2 separate regions of the Homo sapiens genome follow, and region 2 is linked to region 1. Evidence: promoter capture Hi-C in 16 types of primary human blood cells and fetal thymus (Javierre and others, 2016). All regions are on one chromosome and are shown on one strand. Each heading gives the region's core, a stretch centred on a gene start or on the middle of the fragment in contact. The rest is flanking DNA. Distances are from core to core; before and after follow the strand shown. Region 1 holds the start of ITGA1 (integrin subunit alpha 1). Region 2 has its middle 9.2 kb from the start of PARP8.

Region 1 (5,123 bases), core at 488-2,987:
TCACCGGCTATAATGCTGTTCAGCAGTTACCACTGTTTGGATTATTGGACATTTCCTGAGTAGTGGGAAATGTTTGGATGAAAAGCCAGTAGCTAATTATTAACTCTCTTTACATTACCTCCCTTCTGAAAAAAGCTCTGCTTGCTGATAATCAACTTCTAAATCATCTTCATAAAACTTAACAATGCTTGGCCATCTAAGGCAGGTCTAAACTAGCTGGCTCTACCCTGTTTTTAGTGGTAAAAATGCTAAATTAACTAGTACTAATAACCATGCCAGCAGTAAAAACACTGAACAATTGAATATCAATGATATGTTAAAGCCAGCTGTTAATTAACCCATTAATAAGGTGATTTTCTTTCACACAGAGATTCTATCGATACACTTTCCCCCCACCTTCTTCCATTTTTCACCATTTCAACTTTCCCCCACCCCAATCAGTAACTGGTAAAAAAGATCTGACCATGAGTTCATTATTGGGAAAATCTTACAAAATGCTATATTTCAAGCTTTTTCTAAATTGGATACAACTTTGCATTTCCACTATGTTTTTAAGTCCCCTCCTTAAAAATACACATTTATGTACAAATAACAATACTATATTTTGCATCTTAAAAGTAGACTGCCCTGTGATATTTACAGAGAAAATGTTCACCATTCCTTTCTACGTTTCAAAATATCCCTCCTCTTGGGTGCTGACATAGAAACATCATTTTGGAACAAGTGGCAGTTTCGTCTTGCATCCCTGCCTTTTCTTGTTCTGCATGGGAAAAAAGCCTAAATAGTAGACAGCAAGAAAATTCAATAATGTCCACTCTGGAACAACCCGAGGGTAGGAATTTTGCATATGTATCAGGCGCCCTATAAGCATCACCCTCCCATCCCATGCCATAAAAAAGGGTGGAGGGGAGGAAATATTCAGCAAAGTCCTAATATACAATGTGTATTGTAAAAACAACTTTAATTTTAAAAGTGAATTCTACCTTCTAAGGTTTTCAGTGCTGCCTCACTCCTACTCCTAGGGTGAAGGACTTTGGAGAGACACGAAAACTAATTCATATCAAAACCAGAACGCGAAACTCCTGCCTGCCCCGTAGCCTGGCCTGAGTACCTGGAATGCCCGAAAGTGGATGGGCGCTCTCTCTTCCTATCTGGCCCATGGCTCTGAGGACCTCCCTCCCCGCTCCAAGCCCCAAGCCCGCGAGCAGGAGATGCTCAGAGAAAAGCGAGTCGCTCACCAGTGAGGAGCCAGCAGCAGGCGACAGCGACCCCTGGGCGGGCGCGGGGCCGAGGGGCCATGGCCGGAGCAGCCTCAGCGCCAGGGGGCCGCGCTGGTTCGCAGGGCAGGACCGGGCGCGGGAGCTGCGCTCTCTGGCTGGGCCACTTATCCCGCTGCCGCGGTTCCCAGTCCTCTGCCCCAGTGGCAGCGGCGCCCAGGAGCGGGAGAGGAGTGATTTCCTGTGTTTTCGTCGAATTCCTCTAAATGCGCTCCACGCTTTTCACATCCCAGACGGATTGCCACATCGCCCGCCCCTTCGCGCTCTTGGTCTCTGAAATCTCACTGGCAGCTTCCCAGGCTCTGTCCGAGACATGGACAAATAAAGCCAGCTTCGCGGGTCCGTGTTTAGGCTAAAGTCCACGGGCTGTAGAAGCAAACCTTAAAGGGACATCTGCCTTTCATTGAGAGGGTGATCTCGTTCTCCGGGCCAAATCCCCTAAGGTGGTAGGAAGGCGGGTAAGGGCTGGACCTTCGGGAGGGTGTTGCCAGCCCAGTGGCTCCGCCTTCACACCCCTTACTTCTCCCGGCCCGGGCAGGGAGGGCGCTTTGACAGTGCCTGGGCGCCCTTAACGGGAGGCAGCTTTCCCGGGTCCATTGCGCAGAGGGATTAGGCCGTCTGTGAAAATGCGAGGATCTGGAATCCCCCCTTCCATCCCCTGCGGACACTTGAAATTCACCGTGAAGTCGTTTTGCACGAAAGGGGGCGTCCCCACCACCCCGACAGGCTCCACTGAGGGCTTTGCTTTCGCTTATGGGGGGGTGGGGGGGTTGCTTCGTTTATGGTAATTCGTGGTTAAAGGGTGGTTGCAGATAAGCTTTTCTTTGAGATAACTAGGATAAGGGGAGAAAAGGAGAAGCAAGACGGAGGAAAAACAGTAAGAGGGAGAGCGAGAAGGGAAGAGAGGAAGAAAAGCAGCCTCCTTGGAAATGGAATGTGTGTGGGCTATTTTGTTTAAGTGAATTAGGATGTTTGTACGCTGGTAATTGAATCTAATAAAGAACTCGGGGCACTACTTTATTTTTTTCTTGCTTGAAACTTTCACGAGTGAAAATGCATTAAGAGTCCAGAAGTGCTTAGGAACTTGCAATGCTTCCCTTTCCTGGTGAGTTGAACAACCTCTCTGAGTCAAAAGCCATATTCACCCTAGCTTCAACCAATGCTGGCTATTTTCAAAATAGCTGTGTCTTAGCGGTTTTGAGAATTTCAAAGACAGAAAGAATAAGTGGATTTGTGTTTAGAGGAATCTGAGGGAAACAGTTCAATTCAATTCTTCAACTCAACAACTAATTGAGCATCTCTAGCAGAACTAGGGCTAGGCAGGACAAGAGTGCCACCCAAAGGAGGGTTCGTTGAGCAGAACGCAACACAGGTAGCACAGAACAGGTAACACGAGGGACAGGAAGGAAGAAGCCCACAGGGTTCACTGGATACATTGCCAGATAGAGGATCACAGCAACTAAAAGCTGGAGAAGACAAAAGTTGAAGAAGTTTAAGGAGCGTCAAAAATGGGGTGGGCAGACCCAAGGAGGTTGAAGGCCATCAGATCTCAGTATGTTGACCCATTAATCAAGAAATTCCTTTTCTATTATGTATCTGAACTGATTCACTATTTAGTAAATACATTAAAAATCTCGTTCTCCCGTTTTTAGTTTTTATAATGTCATTTCTCAGTTCTGTCTTCAAATTTACACAAATGAGTCTCTAGAAAAATTGTATTATGTTGGGTCACAGTTCAATCCCATTGGACTTTACTTAAGTTCCTTTGTTTGTGTTCAATGCTCTCATACCCTGCCAAGGAATTCATTTCCTGTGTATATCTCGTTTCCCTGTTGGTAGTATCAGTTATGTCTTATGCCTCTCAGTATGACTCTCTGTGCTTTGAACAGTAACCAATAGATATTGATTAATTCGTAGACATTTAAAAATCATAGTAAGTACTTTCCCAATGATATTTCTCCAAATTGCTTAGTTTTCAAAAACATATAATAGTGTGTCTATATATACACAATCATGTGTATGTATGTATGTGTACATATATATGTACAGCATATACATACATATGCAAATACATATATGGCATTTTAGCAAATTGCAATATATTTCATTAGAAAAAACAAAAAGAAATTGTAAAATATTGAAATAAAGTAGGGTTAACATATAATATGTTCAAGTTTACAATTACTGGGAAATTTACCTTTCTTCTGGGGGCTAATATATAATTTCAATTTTAATATTTTTATTTCCTCTAGGACTTACAAATTATTGGTGATAACCATCACTAACAGTGATATTGTTACAATTAATTTTCACAAGTTACAAATTTTATGTTTACATGTTTACATATTTATGAATCTTTTATATGTCTAGTCAATACAAATGTAGAGACTGAGAGATAACTATGGTTAGAGAATTAATTTTAGAATCAGTGCTTATTTTCTGAACTTCAATAAACCCAAATACAAATAAATGTCAAGCCGGTTATTTTCTTAACCAATTTTATTCTGACTGACAGAAAGACATGTCATTGAGTAAAGATTTAGAGAAGACAGAAACTTGCCCAGAGTCACAAACTAGTTATTGATATGAGACACTTGATGACAAATGTTTCAGCTCTAGACTTTATACTACATACTTTTCTATTTTAAATGAGACTTGATTTGATCAGATCTCTTTAAGGGTTTGGAAGCATGAGTAGGAGCATGAACCTTATTGTGAACTGCACACGCTTCTTATGAGAATCTAATGCCTGATGATCTGTCACTGTCTCCCATCATCCCCAGATGAAAACGTCTAGTTGCAGGAAAACAGGCTGAGGGCTCCCACTGATTCTACATTATGGTGAGTTTTATAATTACTTCATTATATATTATAACATAATTATAATGGGAATAAAGTGCACAATGAATGTAATGTGTTTGAATCATCTTGAAACCGTTTCCCCTACCCCTGGTCTGTGGAAAAAATGCCTTCTATGAAACCGGTCTCTCTGCCAAAACGGTTGGGGATGGCTGCACTGAAAGATTAGAGACTGAACTGATTAAGAATTTGGAAAGTGGATGTCTATGAAATGAGGCAAGAGTAATTGAGATTATTAACCAATAATCTCAAAAAGAAAAACATATACTTAAAACCAAAGTATTCTTCTTGGAGTTAATCTAATATACTGAGTAAAGTAACTAGAGTAAGTAAGGTTCTGGAGTTACGCTGCTTGGACTCAAGTCCTGGAACCACAATATAGTAGCTGTGTGATTTGGGAAACGTCATCAAGTTTATCTAAGCCTCAGTTTTCTCAAATGTAAAGTGGGAATGAAAATACTGTACTACTTCTGGTCTGAGAATTGCTGTGGGGATTAAATGAACCGAGCCTCTGAGCATTTAGCACAATGCCTGGATTAAAGTAAGTGCTCGGTTAGTATGAATCATTCTTCTCTGTAAATAGAAGAATTGGTATTAAACAGACCATGTAAACAGGGCAGGCTCTGCGTGTGGTAGACCCTGTAGGAAGTGGTGAAATTTGATGGCCATCAGAAGAGGAACTTTAATGTCCGCCTAAAAATATCTCCATCAACTCCTATTATTATTTCTGGAATCCTCGCTTTAAAAATATTTACCTTGGATTAGGGAATTATCTTGAAGATAGTTCTATAAAATGGGTATGCATGAAGACATCAGAACCCATTATAACGTTCACATGAATTTGCTTTTCAAATTGGCTGGCCGTCAGAGGTTTTTTTTTTTTTTTTTTTTTTTTAATTTTTTTACAAGAGAAGAACATTCCGCTAAGAGGTTGGGGGAATAGAAGAGGTTCTAGAACTCCGTGTCTAATGTATGCCAGGGTTCTTT
Region 2 (4,881 bases), core at 1,352-3,851, 2.1 Mb after region 1:
TATATTAATTTCATATTATGTAATGAGGTTTTCTCCCAAAACAGATCTAGGTCCAAGTAAGTTTGGAGGAAAATAGATTAAATAAAGTTAAATAAATTTCTCTCTTAATAATTTTAAGCCTGTAATATGCCTACTATGACATTTCAAAATGTTGTTTTTGTTTTTGCTTTTTGAGACAGGGTCTCATACTGTCACCCAGGCTGGAGTGCAGTGGCACAATCATGGCTCACTGCAGCCTCTATCTCCTGGGTTCAAGTCATCTTCCCACCTCAGCCTCCCAAACAGCTACAGGCACAGGCCACCACGCCCAGTTTAAAAAAAAAATTTTTGTAGAGACAGGGTGCAACTATGTTGCCCAGGCTGTTCTCAAACTCCTGGGCTCAAGTGATCCTCCTGCCTTTGCTTCCCAAAGGGCTGGAATTATAGGTGTGAGCCTCTGTGCCTGGCCCCACAAAGTTTTAATTGACTAAACATTTGAGTTTGTTTAGTTGGTTGGTTGATTTTTGCAGTGCTTACTTAGGAACAGGATTCCATGTAATTTCAAAAATATATTTTTAAAATTCAGGTAGAAACTTCTGTATTATTTTTCTTTGTGATATTAAGTGTCAAACAATTTTAACACTTATCTCAAGAAGGCTTGTGGAGACTGGGATTTGGAGTAAAACAGACTCAACTTCTGACTTTTACTGGAGTAAAATGGACTGCAACTCCTAGATATGTGAACTTGGGCAAGCTACACAATTTCTTAATACATAAAATCTCAGTTTTCTCATCTGAAGAATGAGGAGAACAAAGGCTTCTATCTCTTTATAGTTGTAGAAGAGAATTAAATGAGATAAACACAGGCAAAAAGAAATATCTAAGTTGCTTAATAAGAATTAATTATTATTGACCAGGCACGGTGGCTCACGCCTGTAAGCCCAGCACTTTGGGAGGCCGAGGCAGGCGGATCACAAGGTCAGGAGATCGAGACCATCCTGGCTAACACGGTGAAACCCCGTCTCTACTAAAAATACAAAAAATTAGCCGGTCATGGTGGCAGGTGCCTGTAGTCCCAGCTACCCGGGAGGCTGAGGCAAGAGAATGGAGTGAACCCGGGAAGTGGAGCTTGCAGTGAGCCAAGACTGTGCCACTGCACTCCAGCCTGGGTGACAGAGCGAGACTCTGTCTCAAAAAATAAATAAATAAATAAATAAAAAGAATTAATTATTATTAAGGAGCCACTTTTATTCTCTCCTGACCCTTCTATACAATTGACTAATTCCTCCTTTGTTTCCCCAGTTTAGCTGGTAGTTTTCTATCACGTTTTTTGGATTCATTTGTTTCAAGTAAATGGTAAGTCCCTGCATAGGGACTTCCTCTTATTTCTATTTGTAAGCCCCATGGGCTTGGTGACATCTGGGAATGCAGACAGATTTAAGGCAGAGAGAGAAGCTTGAAGGAATAGCAGAACAAGTGCCTCCCAGGGGTACATTTTCTTATTGGCAGTCACAATCCAGTCTTGCCTCCTTGAGGCCTCATCCAGGGTCACTGCATTTGTCAGAAAACATTTGGTTGCATGACATAACTGTAACTCAAACCAACAAAGACAAGATACAGTTTCTTGACTGATACAATGTACAATGGTAAAGCATGCTTGGATGGCCTAGCAGACAAAGCAAGAGCTGGAGGACCCAGGGACTCAGGCAATTGAACGGGGAACTCAACCAGAACTTTTCTCTTTTCCATTTCTGTTTGGCAGTTTGTTTTCTTTTTTCTTTTTTTTCTTTCTTTTTTTTTTTTTTTTTTTTTTTTTTGAGATGGAGCCTTGCTCTGTCACCAGGTTGGAGTGCAATGGCACAATCTCGGCTGACTGCTACCTCTACCTCCTGGGTTCAAGCGATTCTCCTGCCTCAGCCTCCCGAGTAGCTGGGAGTACAGGCACGTGCCACCATGCCCAGCTAATTTTTGTATTGTTAGTAGAGACGGGGTTTCACCGTGTTGGGCAGGATGATCTCAATCTCTTGATCTTGTGATCCACCCGCCTCGGCCTCCCAAAGTGCTGGGATTACAGGCGTGAGCCACCCTGCCTGGCCAGCAGTTTCTTTTAAGTAACAGAGAAAATTGTCATTTGGTAATCCCAAATCTGTGACATTCCAGTTTAGTAAACTCAGCGGGGGAAGGATAACTTTTTTTTCTCCATACTCTAAATATTAATCTCAGGATAAAAATGATACCATTCGCTACCCACTTTGGATCAAGGGCCTATCTTTGGGACAAGCACTGTTGCCAAGTGGATGAGGTAGTAAGATTTGCTGAGCCCAAGTCAAGTACCTATTTCTGTGTTGAGAAGCACGTGGGAAAGGTGAAGGCAATATCTCTCATTGGTCTACTGCTAGTCTGATTAAAAGTCCTTTGCTACACCAATTCACTGCATTTCCCTAGGCTGGATCTGGCATAGCCACTCATCTTTTTGAGGGTGAATCATATTTAAAAAAAAGGATGATTTTGTTCCTCACAGTTTGGATTTCTTCTAATTTTACTCTCTCAGTGCAATAATTATAGTTGCAGGCTATGCTCCATGTCGGTGCCCGTCCTCTGTTCTTAGCCCAGTTATAGCACTTACCACATTTACTGCTTGTCTGCCTTTGTAAGAGGCTAAGCAAATGTGCCTGAAGCCTGAGTAATTTGCTCTCTTCAACAGTGTTTCTCCCAGACGTAAGCTAATGTGTGAAACACAGAGAGCACCCAATACGTACTTGTTAAAAGAAAGAAAGATCAAAACCTTCCAAGGTGCAAAATAGAACACAGACAAGAGGCGTAGAACTCAGATTGAATTGGGGATGGAGGTTTGAGGGTGTCAGAGTTGCTGAGTATGGAAGGAAGAGTAGGTGTGGAGAAAGTAAAGAACATTTAGGTGTGGAGAAAGTAAAGAACATTCTAGGTAGTGGGGAGGCATAGAGACAGTGGTGCGCTGGAGCTGGCTCACATAAACTTGCAAGAACACTTGTGCACTTCTCTTCCCAACTTCACACTCAGGGATTTCACATTGGTAGGCGGATGTCAGCCATGGTGGGAGTATTTACACCACAGAAATTGGAGCCGGTACAAAGCAAGGCTTCTGTTCTGTTGCCAGAGAGCTGACCATTAAATATTTGCCATGCCACCATATAAAAGCATGAAGGCGACAGGAATATTGCTGTAAGGGTACCTGGAAATCAAATCATGAAGGGACAGTGTTAAGCACAGGCTGGGCACAGTGGCTCACCCCTGTAATCCTAGCACTTTGGGAGGCCGAGGCAAGTGGATCACCTGAGGTCAGGAGTTCGAGACAAGCCTGGCTAACATGGCGAAAACCCGTCTCTACTTAAAATACAAAAAGTAGCTGGATATGGTGGTGCGCCTGTAGTCCCAGCTACTTGGGAGGCTGAGGCAGGAGAATCACTTGAACCTAGGAGGCAGAGGTTCCAGTAAACTGAGATCGCGCCTCTGCACTCCAGCCTGAGAGACAGAGCGAGACTCTGTCTCAAAAGAAAAAAAAAATTAAGCACAGTAATCCAAATTTCTCAGCCACTGAAAGATTTTGAAAGGGAAGGCATGACATGACTTGATGAATATCTGCTGGCTAGCATTCTTCAACAATAGTTTTGCATGGCAAACTTGGCAGAAGGTGGCATAGTCACTTTATATTAAATGCTTGCAGTTCTAGGGAAGTTATTACCTGTCCTAGCAAATCAATCTTATCCTATAGTTTACCCTAGAACTACGCCAGGCCCAATCTAAGCTTGATTCCATCAGGGCCAGGTGTGGCCACAACAGCAGCACCACTTTAAATCTGTGCCAGTAGCTCATATATTTTATATAGTACAAGTCTATTTCCTCATACCACCTGGCACACCAGCCTCCGTAATGTTGACATTAGCAAGCTTCCAACAAAAAGGTTGGCAGCCCTAGCCATATTTTTTCTTTTCTGTCTAGGTTATTTTAGCTGTGGTCCTGCTTAATACCAGAGGCATGAACCAAATAGATTTTCACATTGCTTCCAAATCTATGAATATATATAGAGAAAAGTTTATTCATGAAAGAGAGAAGGGAGGAAGGAAAGAAGGAAAAAAGGAAGGAAGGAAGGGAGGGGAGGAGGGAGAGAGGGAGGGAAAGAAAAGAGAGAAAAAGAAGAAGGAAGGAGAAAGAAAGTAAAGTAAGTCCAGGGAGCGAGAGAGGGGAGGAAGGAAGGAAGGAAAAGAAAGAGAAAGACGGAAAGAAAATGAGAAAGAAAGAAAGAGAGAGAAAGGAAGGAAAGAGAAAGAAAGAAAAAAAAGAAAAAGAAAAAGGGAGAAAGAAAGAAAGTCAAGTCAGTCCAGGGAGGGAGGGAGGGAAGAAGGAAGGAGGGAGGGAAGGAGAAAGAAGAGAGAGAGAAGGCAAGAAAGAAAGAGAGAGAAAGAAAGAAAGAAAGAAAGAAAGAGAAAGAAAGAAAAGAAAAAAGAAAGAAAAGAAAGAAAGAAAAGAAAAGGAAGGGAAGGGAAGAAGGAAAGAAAAGAAGGAAGGAGAGAGAGAGAAAGAAAGAAAGTTATAATGCTTTTGAACAGGATGTGCCTCACCTGTTTGCAAAAGGAGCAGTGTTCTTCCCAGGATTGTTGAGATGGTAACTCATAAAATGGTAAAAGCAACAGCAGCACATGCAAGTTGGATGAATTAAGGAACTGCATTGGAGCACTCTTTTCAAAGTCACTTTGTTGTTTTCCATTTAGAGTTTTGCTTTTATGAAAGCCTGAAGTGTTATCAGTATACGGGCTCTTGAAAACTTCTTACTTGACATTACAGCAGTTAAAGTGCCTTCTCTTTCCCCAGTTGCTAATCTCAGTTGCCTTGAATCTGGCTCTCTTCTCTTGGGTCTTTGGCCTT

Evidence for each region. The method cuts DNA at HindIII sites, captures the fragments that hold promoters and counts their contacts. A CHiCAGO score of 5 or more calls a contact.
Region 2: a fragment that was not itself captured here is called in contact with the fragment with the promoter of ITGA1 in region 1 in 1 of 17 cell types (M1 macrophages); the score reaches 7.3 in M1 macrophages.

What each region holds. Positions count from the first base shown.
Region 1 is chr5:52,784,530-52,789,652 of GRCh38, reverse strand. It overlaps ITGA1 (integrin subunit alpha 1), which reads right to left and starts at 1,737. Exons shown (of 29, transcript NM_181501.2): 1 at 1,239-1,737. The coding sequence starts at 1,299. It overlaps PELO (pelota mRNA surveillance and ribosome rescue factor), which reads right to left and starts at 1,737. Exons shown (of 3, transcript NM_015946.5): 1 at 1,239-1,737. PELO-AS1 (PELO antisense RNA 1) reads left to right here. Exons shown (of 5, transcript NR_186455.1): 2 at 4,061-4,118. RefSeq lists an enhancer at 1,770-2,049. The HindIII fragment of the contact is 1,585 bases long and covers 512-2,096 here.
Region 2 is chr5:50,654,966-50,659,846 of GRCh38, reverse strand. No RefSeq gene overlaps it. Among named protein-coding and RNA genes, the nearest start is that of PARP8, 9.2 kb to the left of the region's middle. The HindIII fragment of the contact is 2,329 bases long and covers 1,437-3,765 here.